Regions from separate parts of the Homo sapiens genome. Here region 2 is linked to region 1. Evidence: promoter capture Hi-C in human tissues and cell types (Jung and others, 2019). All regions are on one chromosome and are shown on one strand. The core of a region is centred on a gene start or on the middle of the fragment in contact, and the rest is flanking DNA. Distances in the headings are between cores, read along the strand shown.

What was found. The method cuts DNA at HindIII sites, captures the fragments that hold promoters and counts their contacts. A contact is called where the count stands out against the background at its distance.
Region 2: the fragment with the promoter of ZNF256 here is called in contact with the fragment with the promoter of ZNF587 in region 1 in 1 of the 25 tissues and cell types used here (stomach).

Annotation. Positions count from the first base shown.
Region 1 is chr19:57,848,083-57,855,903 of GRCh38, forward strand. It overlaps ZNF587 (zinc finger protein 587), which reads left to right and starts at 1,777. Exons shown (of 3, transcript NM_032828.4): 1 at 1,777-1,989. The coding sequence starts at 1,957. LOC124904782 (a long non-coding RNA gene) reads right to left here. Exons shown (of 2, transcript XR_007067358.1): 2 at 2,233-2,479. RefSeq lists enhancers at 1,375-1,484, 1,555-1,614, 1,785-2,024, 2,075-2,164, 2,219-3,418. The HindIII fragment of the contact is 32,917 bases long and covers 1-7,821 here.
Region 2 is chr19:57,942,444-57,949,895 of GRCh38, forward strand. It overlaps ZNF256 (zinc finger protein 256), which reads right to left and starts at 5,263. Exons shown (of 3, transcript NM_005773.3): 1 at 4,999-5,263; 2 at 1,491-1,617; 3 at 1-204. The coding sequence starts at 5,031. RefSeq lists enhancers at 4,672-4,751, 5,242-5,341, 5,412-5,501. The HindIII fragment of the contact is 18,689 bases long and covers 1-7,452 here.

The DNA of each region.
Region 1 (7,821 bases), core at 527-3,026:
GGCGATTCTCCTGCCTCAGCCTCCCGAGTAGCTGGGACTACAGGTGTCTGCCACCATGCCCAGCAATTTTTTTAACATGGGTTTTGCTGTGTTAGCCAGGATGGTCTTGATCTCCTGACTTCATGATCTGTCCACCTCGGCCTCCCAAAGTGCTGGGATTACAGGCGTGAGCAACCGTGCCCGGCTAATTTTTTTATTTTTATTAGAGATGGGGTTTCACCATATTGGTCAGGCTGGTCTCGAACTCCTGACCTCATGATCCACCTGACTCAGCCTCCCAAAGTGTTGGGATTATAGGCATGAGCCACTGCACCCAGCAATTTATTTATTTTTTATTTTTTATTTTTTTTGAGACAGAGTCTCACTCCTGTTGCCCAGGCTGGAGTGCAATGGCATGATCTCGACTCATCGCAACCTCCACCTCCAGGGTTCAAGTAATTCTCCTACCTCAGCCTCCCGAGTAGCTGGAATTGGAGGCATGCAGCACCATGCCTGGAAAATTTTGTACTTTCAGTAGAGACACGGTTTCTCCATGTTGGCCAGGCTGGTCTCGAACTCCCGACCTCAGGTGATCCACCTGCCTTGGCCTCCCAAAGTGCTGGGATTACAGGTGTGAGCCACCATGTCTGGCCTTTATTTTTATTTTTTGTGGGTATATAGTAGTGTATATATTTGTAGATTACATTAGATATTTTGATGTAGCCATGCCATATGTGATAATCACATAGGGTAAATGGGGTCTCAGTCACCTCAACATTTATCCTCTGTATTATAAACAGTCCAGTTATACTCTTTTAGTTATTTTTAAATATATAATTAAATTATTTTGACTATAGCCACCCTGTTATGGTAGCAAATATTAGGTCTTATTCATTTTTGCTCACTGTTTTTTGTACCCATCCTGTCATCATGTCTTATGGAGAATTTTCTTTTGTTCCCAACAAAACAATGAAACTCGCAAAACTGACTGTAATGATTCAGTCTACGTGAATTTAAAGAGCAATCAATACTTAATGTTCTCAGCTCTGAGTGCACACATTGTAAGTCTGAATGATGCCAATGATATGGCCACTTAGATAAGTAAAGTTTGGGAGCATCTCAAATAGTATTTTTATTCTCTGGGTGCAGGATGAGCTTCCTAGAGTCTGATGTGATACCTATTTGATGCTTTTACAAAGAATCAATAATCTTCCTCCTTTGAGGTGTGAGCAGGGCTTTCCAGCAGCCCTCAGAATGTAACATGGTCTGCATTCGGTTTGCTCTTGGAGGATACCACCATTGTTGGCTGAGAGCTCTGGGAAGTACTTTACCCAGAAGGCGCTAGTTGCAAGGCCCAGGATGAGGGATTTCTGGGCATGCTTGTCAGGCCAGGGAGTACTGGGTTGGGACTGAGAAGGCACAAGAGGAGTAGTCATCTCTGCTCCCAAGTGGCAGGTCTGAGGCTCATAGGCACTGGCTGGGGTGATGCCTGCTCCACCCACAGTTGATGGCAGCAGCCACACTGAGGGACCTAGCTCAGGTAAATGCTGTGTATTACAGGCTTCACCCCAGCTAGAGTAATACAGGTAGAGGAACCAATAGGTACAAAGGCTTGGAGGTGCATCTGAGCCATGAACATTTCAGAACCTGGTAACCATGTTGTGTCATGGAAAGTGGGGAACTACATTACCCAGAAAGCTCTGCTTTAAACGACAGCCGGTCAGAGCCAGTGAGCACTCGGAAAGAAGGCATTTCCACGTGTGCACGTAACGTAAGGCCGAGACTTCCGGGGTCTCTAGTAGCGGCTGTGTATCGGCGATGCGGGTGTTTCCCCAGTTTGTGGCCCCTGAGTGCTGGGTGGGACCGCGGTGACTGAACCTAGAAGGTGGAGAGGAATCGTCCTCGGTGCCCAGAGGCGGCTCTGCAGCCCCGTGACGGCGACCACTGCTCCCGGGCCGTGCTTCCCCAAGTAGTCCGATGGCAGCGGCTGTGCCGAGGCGCCCAACTCAGGTAATTGTGGTGCCTTCTGTGCCCTCAGGTCACCCCATCGTCACCCAGGTCCTAAACCAGCGAGGGAGCGGCTCCTGCTCGTGGGTCTGTAGCCGGTACCCGGCGTAGGAACACTGAGGCGCTCACAGGAGGCCTCTCCTTGTAACCGTCCAGTGGGTTCACGTTGCCAGCTGCCTAGACAGAGCCGATTTATGAAGACTGGGGAATTGCGATGGAGAAATAGTAATTCACGCAGAGCCGTCCTGCTGTTCGGGAGACAGGAGTTTTATTATTCAAATCAGTCTCCCTGAGCATTCTGGGATCAGAGTTTTCAAAATTTGGCGGGTAGGGGCTTGGGAAGTGGGGAGTGCTGATCAGTCTGGTTGGAGATGGATTCATAGGGGGTTAAAGTGAGTTTTTCATGCTGTTTTCTGTTCTGGGTGGGATGGCAGAACTGATTGACCCAGATTACCGGTCTGTGTGTTGTCCGCTGATCCATCCAGTGCAGGATCTGCAAAATGCCCCAAGCACTGATCTTAGATATTGGGGAAACCAGCCCCACACCACCCAGCAGATACCCCGAGTCCTGCGGAGACAAAGGAGTTAGAAAGAGACAGAATACGCATTTAAAAGGCGGGTCCAGGTGGCCAGAGCATTGGAGGCTTCCTGGCGGCCCAGAGCTCTTGGGCTCCACCCAGTTTATTGGTTTACAAGCTCTTTGTTCTTATGGCTGATTGGAGGGGGAGGAAGCGATCAGGAAAAGGATTAATCAGTAAAGGAGAACTCGTGAGTCATTCCATAAGATGTAAAGCACTGGCCGTTTCTGTGAATTTCCTTGAACAAAGGCGTGTGTCTAAACTACTTAAGATCTTTAACTTAACTGAAACGGGTGGCTGCGGGTTTCAGGAGGAGCCAAGATGTTTGATTATGCTCCACTGCTTCAAGGGAGTGTGATCTCCCTGAGCAACCCATGGAATGCTGCTGAAGAGTTATGCTCTCGGGGCATAAAGACATGAAGGCAATAAGGAGACTTTTCTCCTCAGAGGCCGCCCATGGCTTCCCATGGGTGTCTCACACAGGGGAGACCAACTCAACTAGCACCCCAGAAACTCACATTAGGTTTTACAATAGTAAGGTTATCTTCAGGAGCAACTTGGGGAGGTTCAGACTCTTGGAGCCAGAAGCTGCATGACCCCTAAACCGTAATTTCTATTCTTGTAGCTAATTTGTTAGTCCTGCAAAGACAGGCTGGTCCCCAGGCAAGAAAGGGGTCTTTTCAGGAAAGGGCTATTATCAATTTTGTTTCAGAGTGAAACCATGAACTGAATTCTTTTCCAAAGTTAATTCAGCCTATGCCCAGGAATGAAAAAAGACGGCTGAAAGGTTGGAAGCAAGATGGAGTCGGTTAGGTCTGATTTCTTTCACTGTCATAATTTCGTCAGTTATAATTTTGCAAAGTCGGTTTCACCTGTTTCTGACACCAGTGGGATGCAGTGGGGAGAGTGACAGGCACAGGTAGGGGTGCAGGCAATGGCCTGCAGATGGACAGAGCTGGAAGGATGGAACCTGGGGTTCACAGGCATCTGTCAGGAACAACGTGTGAGATGGAGCTCTTCCTGGTAGAGCAAGCAGGCCAGGGGCTGTGCATTCATCATGAGGATTCTAGAAGCCATGGAGAGTTTTGAAGAAAGGAGGGACATGATCCAAATCCAGGCTTTTAAGAAGTTTCCCAAAGGCCAATCAAAGGAAGAACATCATAGAGAGAGAGGATGAGGACTTTGGGGCCTTGGGAGGTTGAATCCGTTTTGTAGATCACATAGATGGTAGAGATGACATTTTGCACTGAGAAAAGCAGGTCAGACAACCAGCCTTAGGGTTACCTGGTTCCAGGGACAAGAAAGGGTTCAGGGAGTCCTGAGCTTATCAAATCCTGTGACATGTTTGTAATGTCTGCCTTTCCCCTCAGGCACTCCTGGCTGCAGAAGCACTTAGGGAACCCACACAGGGAAGTGGAGGGTGTTCCATTCCCTCATTGGTCCTGACGCCATCTACAGGTTCTCTAGCTTGTGGTGTCCTGGGACTCTTAAGTGCCATTTTTTTCAGTCCTTTGATCCGAGGACCCTGGAGAATCTCTGAAGCCAGGATACCAAGTCCATGACAGGTTATATGGAGGTATTCCCATTTCTGTCAACCAATGTAAACACCCTTGTAAGATTAACCCAGGATTTGCTACCAGGTTGTGAAATGCTTAGAGATAAAACGGATCAAAGTCAGGAGGTGATATTACCACAGTTCTACCTGGCTACAGGCTTCATCTGGCTGGACCTTGTTGCATAGACTGTGGGTTGAGGGAAGAGGAAGAAAGGTCAGAGATAAGGCTCCTGCCATAATCCAGGTGAGGGTTAATGGATCAGATAAGTGGTAAATCACATGGGTCTGGATTCAGGATTCACTTTTTGTAAAGAGACAGCTAGGTTTTCTTTTTTTTTTCTTAACGTGGAATTTCAGTCTTGTTGCCCAGGCTGGAGTGCAATGGCGCAATCTTGGGCTCACTGGAGCCTCTGCCTCCCAGGTTCAAGCAATTCTCCTGCCTCAGCATTCAAGGTAGCTGGCATTACAGGCACCCACCATCATGCCCAGCTAATTTTTGTATTTTTAGTAGAGACGAGGTTTTACCATGTTGGCCAGGCTGGTCTCGAACTCCTGACCTCAAGTGATCGTCACATCTCGGCCTCCCAAAGTGCTGGGATTATAGGCATGGACCAATGCGCCCAGCCGAGACAGCTAGGCTTTTTTTTTTTTTTTTTTTTTTTTTTTTTTGAGACGGAGTTTCACTCTCTTGTCCAGCCTGGAGTCTAGTGGCACAATCTCAGCCCACTGCAACCTTCACCTCCTGGGCTCAAGTGATTCTCCTGCCTCAGCCTCCTGAGTAGCTGGGATTACAGGCATGTACCACCACACTCGGCTAATTTTTCTATTTTTAGTAAAGTCGGGGTTTCACCATGTTGGCCAGGCTAGTCTCAAACTCCTGACCTCAGGAGATTCGCTGGCCTCTGCCTCCCCAAGTGCTGGGATTATAGGCACGAGCCACCATGCCTTGCAGACAGCTAGATTTTCTAATGTGGATGATAGGAGCATGAAAGAGGAATCGGGCATGAGCCCAAGGTTTTTGATCTTAGCAGCTGTAACCATGCACACTGCTTCAGCTGAGATGACGTTGGTATTGACATAATATTCACTGTGGATATCCAGAGGGTTGTTTTGGCCATATGAAGAATCAGAGACCAATAAGTGGTGGCATCAAATCGATAACTAGACATACTGGATGGGGTATCTGGGAGGGTGTTGATACTGGAGACATCCAATATATGAAAGCTAATGAGTGAACTATGATTAGTTATGGGTCCATTTAGGAGGACATGCTTCAGATTATGGTGGTAAATCTTTTCAGGGGGCAGAAAGGTGTGATTACAGGCTGAGGACTGGATCTCTTACTTACGTCCTCAATTGATGTTATTGGGCTTCCTAAACACCTGAGAGGGTGTGAGTGACCATCATAACAGGACATTTAATACAGTAGAGTTTGGAAGGGGACATAGACATCCAAAGAGATAATAGAGAAGAGATAGATGCATGCAGAAGCACAGGAGTAATTCAGGGAAGATGACACTTAGGCCTGAGTTGGTGCCAAAGTTGTAACTTTTTTGTTTTTTTTTTTTTTTCAGATGGAGTTTCGCTCTTGTTGCCCAAGCTGGAGTGCAATGGTGCCATCTCGGCTCACTGCAACCTCCACCTCCTGGGTTCAAGCAATTCTCCTGCCTCAGCCTCCCAAGTAGCTAGTATTACAGGCACCTGCCACCACAGCAGGCTAATTTTTGTATTTTCGGTAGAGACAGGGTTTCACCATGCTGACCAGGCTAGTCTTGAACTCCTGACCGGGTGATCTGCCTGCCTCGGCCTCAAAGTGCTGGAATTGCAGGCGTGAGCCACTGTGCCTGGCCAGTTGTAACTATTTATCACTGTCTGGACTCATAAACATTTTGAGATGACTTTGGGAGTGCCTGGGGAGTTTCATTCAGCCTGGTGCATATGGGCAGTGAAAAATATGCTCATCTGTGATAGTAGATGTGGTTTGGTTCACAAATCCAGGGGCTGGGCTTTAAACGGCATTAGGTGGACAGAGGAGGGTTGCTACAGCTGAGGTCTCAGCTGGTGCAGCACAAAAGTGAAATAGGGCCATGGCTATCTGAAGCCATATGTGGTTCTGTGTGGCTATGGAGTCATTCCAGGAGACGTTCACAGGATGATTTGGGATTACCACTGCTATTGTAAACCATGGAAATTCTGTGTTAATATTGGATGCTATTTGTATTTGTCAAGCATAGTCTGGATGCTTATCCACATTTTGGTATAAGGCCAGAATTGAAGGCCCAATATGATGTGTCACTTTGACATCTTGTGAAAGTGGGACAACCTTAAAAGGTGTGAGTACAAATCTCATTCCCACTCTGCTCTCTTGAATAATGTATCCTAGCCTAACAGCCCGTTTTATCAAGGTGATAAGGCAGGGTTCCAGGTTGTTATATTTTGTGGTGGGTTTCAATTCCATCCCTACCAGCAGAGTTATGGAAACAAACCATTGCATATTCCCAAGGGAATCATGGGCCGTTATACCCTCTTCATCTTGTGAAATAATTTTATTTGTAGGCGCTGGGTGTGGTGGCTCACCCCTATAATCTCCTCACTTTCAGAGGCCAAGGCTGGTGGATCACTTGAGACCAGAAATTCAAGACCAGCCTGGCCAACATGGTGAAACCCCGTCTCTACTAAAAAAAAAAAATACAGGCCAGGCATGGTGGCTCAAGCCTGGAATCCCAGCACTTTGGGATGCTGAGGTGGGTGGATCAGGAAGTATGGAGATCGAGACCATCCTGGCTAACACAGTGAAACCCCGTCTCTACTAAAAAAAAAAAAATACAAAAAATTAGCCAGCTGTGGTGGTGGGCACCTGTAGTCCCAGCTACTCGGGAGGCTGAGGCAGGAGAATGGCCTGAACCTGGGAGGCAGAGCTTGCACTGAGCTGAGATCATGCTACTGCCCTCCAGCCTGGGGGACACAGCAAGACTCCGTCTCAAAAAAAAAAAATTAGCCGAGTGTAGTGGTACATGGCTGTAATCCCAGCTACTTGGGAGGCTGAGGCACAAGAATCACTTGAACCTGGGAGGCGGAGGCTGCAGTGAGCCATGATTGTGTTCCTGCACTCCAGCCTGGGTGGCAGAGCTAGACTATGTCTCAAAAAAATCCCCCAAAAATAAACTTTTACTTCTGGGGATGCCAGAGAGGGGCTGAAGGTTGGGGAAACTCTGGTGGGGGTGGCCATGGGCATGTGTCTGTACAGTATAAAGAATGATATATATTTAATGAGAGCGAGGTTGTCTGATGGACTCAGGCAGCTGCCTTGGGCTTTACGTGACCTTGGATATCGCTGTTCAGAAGGGGGTGTGGGCTTTTTTTGTTTTTTTTTTTTTTGAGATGGTGTCTCGCTCTGTTGGCCAGGGTGGAGTGCAGTGGTGTGATCTCGGCTCACTACAAACCCCGCCTCCTGGGTTCACGCCATTCTCCGGCCTCAGCCTCCCGAGTAGCTGGGACTACAGGTGCCCACCACCATGCCCGGCTAATTTTTTGTATTTTTAGTAGAGACAGGGTTTCACCATGTTAACCAGCATAGTCTCTATCCCCTGACTGCAAGATCTGCCCGAATCAGTGTCCCAAAGTGCTGGGATTACAGGCGTGAGCCACCGCACCCAGCCCAGAAGGGAGTGGACCTTTTTATGTCAGGACCTCAGCATGGAT
Region 2 (7,452 bases), core at 4,013-6,512, 98 kb after region 1:
CCCCGTCTGTATACAGTTTCTGACCATGGTGTGTTCCTTGGTGTTCAACCAAGTGCAAAATCTGTCTCAAGACTGGGCCACATATCTCACAGGGGTTGGTCTTCTGGGGAGAAGGAAGGGCCTTAGGAATCCTAACCTGTGACACCCGCTGTGGAGAAGTGCTCTGCTGATAAGGTGCCTCCTCATCCCCTGCTCCAGAACCACCTGAAAGAAAGAAAATGCTGGTGAAGAGCATGCTGACTTTAGTGGAGTGGAGGTAGCCCACAGACAAATGTGCATCCAACAAACCCAGGAACTGAGTCCATGGGGTTGTTTTCAGGACCAAGGTGTTGGGTTCAAGTTGAAGATAGGGCTGCCTAGCAGAACTGGGCCTCTAAAGATCACAGAACTGGGAAGGGCTCATGAGTTAAAAAACACAGCCATGGGATGAGAAACATGGAGAAGAGGCAGGATATACAACTCATTCCTCTAGAACAATTTTCAGTGAGATCTGCTGTCCTGCTAACACATGCATTGTGTACAGGTATGTGTCCAGGCCCAAGAAAATGTGACAACAAAATAGCGGCTGACATACGTGGACACCTCATAACATATTATGTAGAGGCCAACACTGAAGAGCACTGCAGATAAGGCAGTGAGAAAAATGGGTGAAACATGGAGTCCAGAGATGTGGGGATTAACCCCAGGCTGGAAGTAAGAGACGTAGTAACCAGGTGGACAGCTGACAAGCAAGCTAAGTATCAAGAATGGGAAAGAAAAGGCAGTAATGAGGTTTGGCCCCAAATGTCATTAGCACCAAAATATTAGTCAAACAGGATATGTTTCTGGTATGATGTGAACATAACCCTTATAGAATGTCCTCCTTTAGGTGTTAGTCCCTAGGGCCAGGCTCCCTCTGAGTCCATCTTGCTGTGGGGAATCACAGCCATCCTCAGAACCACAGGGCCTGTCCATCTGACCCCTACAATCAAGAACACGGAACTTGGAATATGCAAGCACCCAAGACCAGCCCAGAATGACTCTGCACATGATAGCCTACAGGAAAAAAAATAATAATACAAGGAGAAATTCAGAGGAGGATTTTGCAAGAGCCACTCGTAGTCCACATAAGTGGTGACAATGTCAGTGATGATAATTGCTGGCAGAGGCAGGCATGAGGAAGTGTCCCCTAGAGGAAGGAAGTAGAACCTGGGCCTTGAGGAGCCTCGAATCTGGACAATGTCACCTGGCCAGGAGAGGCAAACGAGGTGAGATCCATGAGGCCGACTATAAGAAGCCTAACTCTGAATCTTTCCACATGAAAGGGAAGCAGGTGTTGCTTGCTCAAGGAGAAAAGCAGGCAACATACAACCTTAGCCCTACCAACCGCAGCACCTGCCCAGGAACAGGAAGCTGTGTCAATAGTCCTCTTGTGAAGACACATCTGACTCTGGGGAAAGGGTAAGAGCAAAGGCTAGCTCGGGGCATAGAGGTGGGTGTGAGGACCTTACCCAGGGAGGTTGTAAGTGTCAAGTTCTCCAGCATCACATCGTGGTACAGGCATTTCTGAGCCTCATCAAGAAGACCCCACTCCTTCCAGGAGAAGTAAACAGCCACGTCCTCAAAGGTCACAATGCCCTGCCAGGATGGGGACACATGAAACCACAAACGGTTCCTCCTCTCAGGATCCATAATCCTTCCCCTCACACATTTACCCCATGCTCATCCTCTTTCCAAGCTCTCCAAGCTCCCCAGCTCAGAGGAGAAAGCAGTCAGCTGGTGCTGTTGTCTCCTAATGGGGCTCTTGGTCACTGGTTGCAGCCATCAGTAACAAGAGGCAGGTGAACAAATACATGTATCTAAGCTGTGGGCGTGGCATAAGGGCAACCACTCCTTCCTGACAAGCATTCCTCTCATATGACCAAGGTCATGTAAGTCTCAATCAGGACACTGGGGCCATCAGGCACACTCCCTCTCCAAGTGCATATCATTCATTACACTGCACATACCTCAGGTCTCCAGATCCCACTGCCACATGACCATGACCACCACTACGTCCTATACCACAGGCAAATCCTGGCTTCCCCACATGCTACCTGAGTGAAAGAGTAGATAACCTGGGCCGGGTGCAGTGGCTCATGCCTGTAATCCCAGCACTTTGGGAGGCCGAGGTGGGCGGATCACGAGGTCAAGAGATGGAGACCATCCTGGCTAACAGGGTGAAACCCCATCTCTACTAAAAATACAAAAGATCAGCCAGGCGTGGTGGCACACGGCTGTAGTACCAGCTACTCAGGAGGCTGAGGCAGGAGAATCACTAGAACCCAGGAGGTGGAGAGGTGGAGGTTGCAATGAGCCGAGATCACGCCACTGCACTCCAGCGTGGTGACACAGCGAGACTGCGTCTCAAAGAACAAAAAAAAAGAGTGGATAACCAACAGCCAAATATAAGACACGTGACATTGGACAAATGAGATCAACAGTTTATTAATTTTTTTTTTTTTTTTGAGACGAAATCTTGCTCTGTCGCCCAGGCTGGAGTGCAGTGGGGCAAGCTCCACCTCCTGGGTTCATGCCATTCTCCTACCTTAGCCTCCCAAGTAGCTGGGACTACAGGCACCCGCCATCACGCCTGGCTAATTTTTTATATTTTTAGTAGAGAAGGGGTTTCACCGTGTTAGCCAGGATGGTCTTGATCTCCTGACCTTGTGAGCTGCCCGCCTCGGCCTCCCAAAGTGCTGGGATTACAGGCGTGAGCCACCACGCCTGGCTGAACAGCTTATTAATTAAAGACAAATACTCATAGCCTGTGAAAGAATACCACACTCCACACAGGGCCATACGGAGGTAGTACTCCAGAAAAGAGTAACAACCAGGTGCTGTAGAATGTAAGTTTTGTAGCATCAAGATGGAGAAGCTCCACTGGTCCCCAGAGGAGGGGACTGGCTTGTTTGAATAACTCAAAAAATTGATAGGGAACTGAAACCCACTACAAAGTAATAAGCAGGAACTGTTCTGGTTCCCTGGATAAGAATGGATAAGAAGGGTTCATTTGGCTAAGAGAGCTTATTCATGGGAGCAAAGTGGGAAGGGGAATTTGTTCTCAGGCCATCTAAGGCTGTATCGTTTTCATCAGATGTCAAGGCGACATATCATACTGGGCCTTAATTTCCGGCCTTATACCGCAACTTGGCAGGCAGCATCCAGAGTGTGGATATAAACAGGATCCAAAATCCCAGACTTCCCACAGCTTACACTAGTGGAAGCAGCCTCAAAAATTTCTTTGAAGGCCTCCCTGCCAGGCTGTATTCCTTGCCTCAGACATAGCCACACAGAACCACAGGTGAATCACAGATAACCATGGCCCTATTCCACTTCTGTGCTGCACTTACCATCCCCTTGAGAGTCATATATCCACCTAAAGCTCATTTAAATCCCAGCCTCACTGGTCGTTCATCTCACACACAATGACTCTCACAAATGACCACATGACACTAACTTAATCTTCCAGCCTGAATGAAACACCCAGGCCCCATCAAGTTATCACAAAATCCTGGATACCCATAAAGTGGTGAATAAGCACGAGTTTTGGCCTGAGTGTCCTATGCGTTTGCATCCATCTCATGTCCATTCTTCTCTTGGGAGCCGTGGCCACTGCCAAACTACACTGTCTTTTACATACCTTGCCTTCATGACCACTTACTCTATCATCATCCTCCCAGTCTTGGCCCACTAACAGCTTTACAACCAAAACCTGGAGCTTGCCCCGCCTAACTGTGACCCACAGCTCACTAACCTTGGTGCGCACAACAGCCACATCTTGAATATCTGCACCCTGAACCACTCCCTAGATTTCAAGACCGGCACGTTCATCTGCCCACTTAACGCCTCCATTTAGTAGGCTCTGAAAGATCTGACTCTTAGCATGGCATAAACAAACCTGATATCCCTAGTGAATATTACTCCTATTGCCAATTTGTTCATCTTAGTTGATGAAACTTCTTTCCCTACAGCTGCTAATACCAAAAACCCTGGAGTCTTCTCTGAACCCTCTGTTTCACTCCCTCACCACCTACATTATGTAATTTAGTTGTCCCTTTTGAAACCACACATCCGGAATCTAACCACATCTCCTAAATCACGATCCTGGGCCAGTAACCCTCACTTGGACTAGTCTACCCTGATTTTCCTTCCTCCTCCCTCAACCCCCCAGTTTGTGCCCCACTGTGCACACAGATGAAGCCTGTGAAGACCTTGGTAAATTACCTCTTTTTTCTGATTCAAACTTGCTATTACCTCCTGAAAACACACTCAACTTCTCAGGCAGCCACTGCAGTCCTGACGCCTATCCTCCTGTTCTTTGCTTCCCACCAGAAAGCAAGGAGACTTGTGGCTTCATAAATGCACCCAGCTCCGTACTGCACCTAAGCATTTGCACATCTTGTACCTTTCTGGAAAAACTTTCCACACCCGTTCACATGGCTGCCAGAAATTGGAACAACTCTATATACCGGCTAACATGGACATAGGACCCTGGGCTTGGGGTTCACCCAAGGTCTTCAGAACTAAGGGCTGGGGGAATGGCACTCCACAACCCAGAGAACCTGTGGGTGGGAGTTAGGGCTAGTGAGAGACTGGGAAACCCTCCCCTTCCTGGCGTAGATTTCATAACCCTTTACAGCCAAGGGAAACGTAGAAAGAGCCAGGCCTCAGAGAAGAGCATCTATGGCGGTATTAGATGGGCTCAAGCCACCCCGTAGCCCCATGCCTGGCCTTGGAGCCGGGTGCCCTCGCAATGGCTGTGTCACCTCTGTGCCCCAGGGCTCAGTGGCGCCTCTCATCAGGGGCTCCTTGCCAGTCGCGCCCTCCCTTCCCTAGCACACCAGGTGTTGGAAACGGGAGCCCCTCCGGCGAGCCCCCGTGTCCTGTCCTGGGCAGCAGGGCCGCGAGCAAGCGCCCTCGGGGGTGCTAGGACTAGCGTGGGGAGGGCGGGGAAGGCCCAGAGGACGCGGCACATACCTGGGCCGGGGCCGTCAGCTCGGCCGCCGCCATCTGACTCTGTGAGCGGAGCGGGGCCAGAGAGGATGTCCTTATTCCGGGCCGGGCCTGGGTACCCTGGGCGCCGCCGAGCCTCAGCCACGCCTCTGTGCAGCGGGGAAGACTCCTCTCGCGCCTTCTCAGTCAGTCACGGATGATGCTGACCCAGCGCTCCGGGGCTTTCTACCAAGTAATCAGTCCAGACAAATGCCAAAACGACCGCCACAAGGAGGACAACGGAAGTCCCGCCGCGACCGCGCGTGCGCTTACGGAAACACCACCTTTCGGAGGCCTCATTGGCTGAAGGTCGCCGTCGCCCAACGCAGGCCATTCTGGGTAATGTTCCCACAGGCGCACGGCGGGAGAGTGAGGGTCGCCTCCACCTCCTTCCGGAAGTAAAGGCCAAACCCCTGTAGGGGGCGCTGGGAAATGGACACTCCAGGTTGGGGCGGAGGCGAGGCTTCGTTCTTTCTTAAAGGAGACGTACCCAGGTTTCTACCGATTGCTGTCTGCCAGTGTTTGTTTGGAGACGTGTCATTTCATGTGTTCCCAGAGGCACATATCCAGATGCACATATTATTACATACAGTCAGTCAGTCACAAAATATATCCACTGGTTGAGAAAGCAAATAAATATGACTATGTTGCGGCCGGGCGCGGTGGCTCACGCCTGTAATTCCAGCACTTTGGGAGGTCGAGGCGGGCGGATCACGAGGTCAGGAGATCGAGACCATCCTGGCTAACTCAGCGAAACCCCGTCTCTAAAATACAAAAAATACCACAAAAAAAAAAAAAAAAAGAAAAATTAGCTGGGTGTGGTGGCGGGCGCCTGTAGTCCCCAGCTACTCCGGAGGCTGAGGCAGGAAAATAGCTTGAACCCGGGAGGCAGAGCTTGCAGTGAGCCGAGATCGCGCCACTGCACTCCAGCCTGGGGGAAAGAGCGAGCCACTGTCTCAAAAAAAAAAAAAAAAAAAAAAAAAAAAAAAGACTATGTTGCAATTCAAACGCATGCACTCAAGCACTGGAGTCAGTTTTCTCAGTCTCTGTATGTTTGATTAGGGACAAGAAAAAAAACACTCCACACAGGTTCATGACAAAGAGGATGAAGGTGGGATGCGGAGGCACCCTGCAGCAGCAGGACATAAGTAGATCCCTGTCTCTGGGTCCCTCTCGTGCCTGTGTAGTCAAACATTGTGTCCAATTCACTAAGCAACACTTGCATGAATCTAATCTCACTTTCTCCATGCCTTTATATTCACTTCTTTTTAATAATTTGACATCAAGCTCAGAAAGAGAACAACAAAAGGAATGGTATTTTGAAAAGGCATGATGGCTAGCTAGAGCATTAACAGGTGGAACAAAGGGTGCTCTGAATCCCAAATGTAGGGTGTATCTTAAATTCAAGATCTCTTCTCAACGCTGAAATGATTATCTTTGCCCCCATTAGTTACGCTCTTGTTGCCCAGGCTGGAGTGCAATGGTGCGATCTCGGCTCACCACAACCTCTGTCTCCCGGGTTCAAGCGATTCTCCTGCCTCAGCTTCCCAAGTAGCTGGAATTACAGGCGCCCGCCACCGTACCCGGCTAATCTTTTTTTTTTTTTTTTTTTTTTGTATTTGTATTTTTAGTAGAGACGGAGTTTCGCCATATTGGCCAGGCTGGTCTCGAACTCCTGACCTCAGGTGATCCACCCACCTCGGCCTCCCAAAGTGCTGGGATTACAGGCGTGAGCCACTGTGCCCGGCCCTTTGCCCCCATTATTATAGGGCTGTTCTGCATAAAAAATTGATACGATATCAGAAAAAGAATTGTAAAATACAAATTACAGAAAGCTACTAATAATGGGTGTCGCTTCGCCAGCCAGAAACCTCTGTGGTCGCGCCTCTGCTTGAGTTTTGCTCACACCCGCTGGGCTTGTTCCACCCACTCGGCCCAGCAGGCTGCACCTGGATCCCACACCTACCAAGGGCGAGCCAGGCGCGGAGCCGCAAGGGGTGTGTGAGCGAGCAAGTGAAGGGTCCAGCCAGTGCACACAGCCAGGCACGCTGGCTGCTGCGGCGGGGCGGGCAGCTCCAGGCGCTGGCACAGGCGCCGGCTCCTTGCAAGTCTGCGACTGGACCAGACATACTGCAGGCGGCTTCTGCTGCAGGCACCAGCATCTAGACGAGGGAAAAATGGTGGCGCCGGAAAGCTCGGAGACACCAAGAACAGCAGAACCCCAAAGAGGGTGTTGCAGCATGTCACAGCCCTGGCTCCGGAGTCTCGAGGCCTGGGCTCCCGGAAGAGCCACAGCTCTTCTCTCCTTCCCGTTGCTTGCAGCCTGGCAAGCGGGGAGGTGTGTTTTGGGTGGGGTGTGTTTTCAGCTTGTTTGTGATATAGCTCTTTCAGTCCCGCTGCCCTGCTCTGGCTCGCTGCTGCTTCCCATCGTGGGGGGCG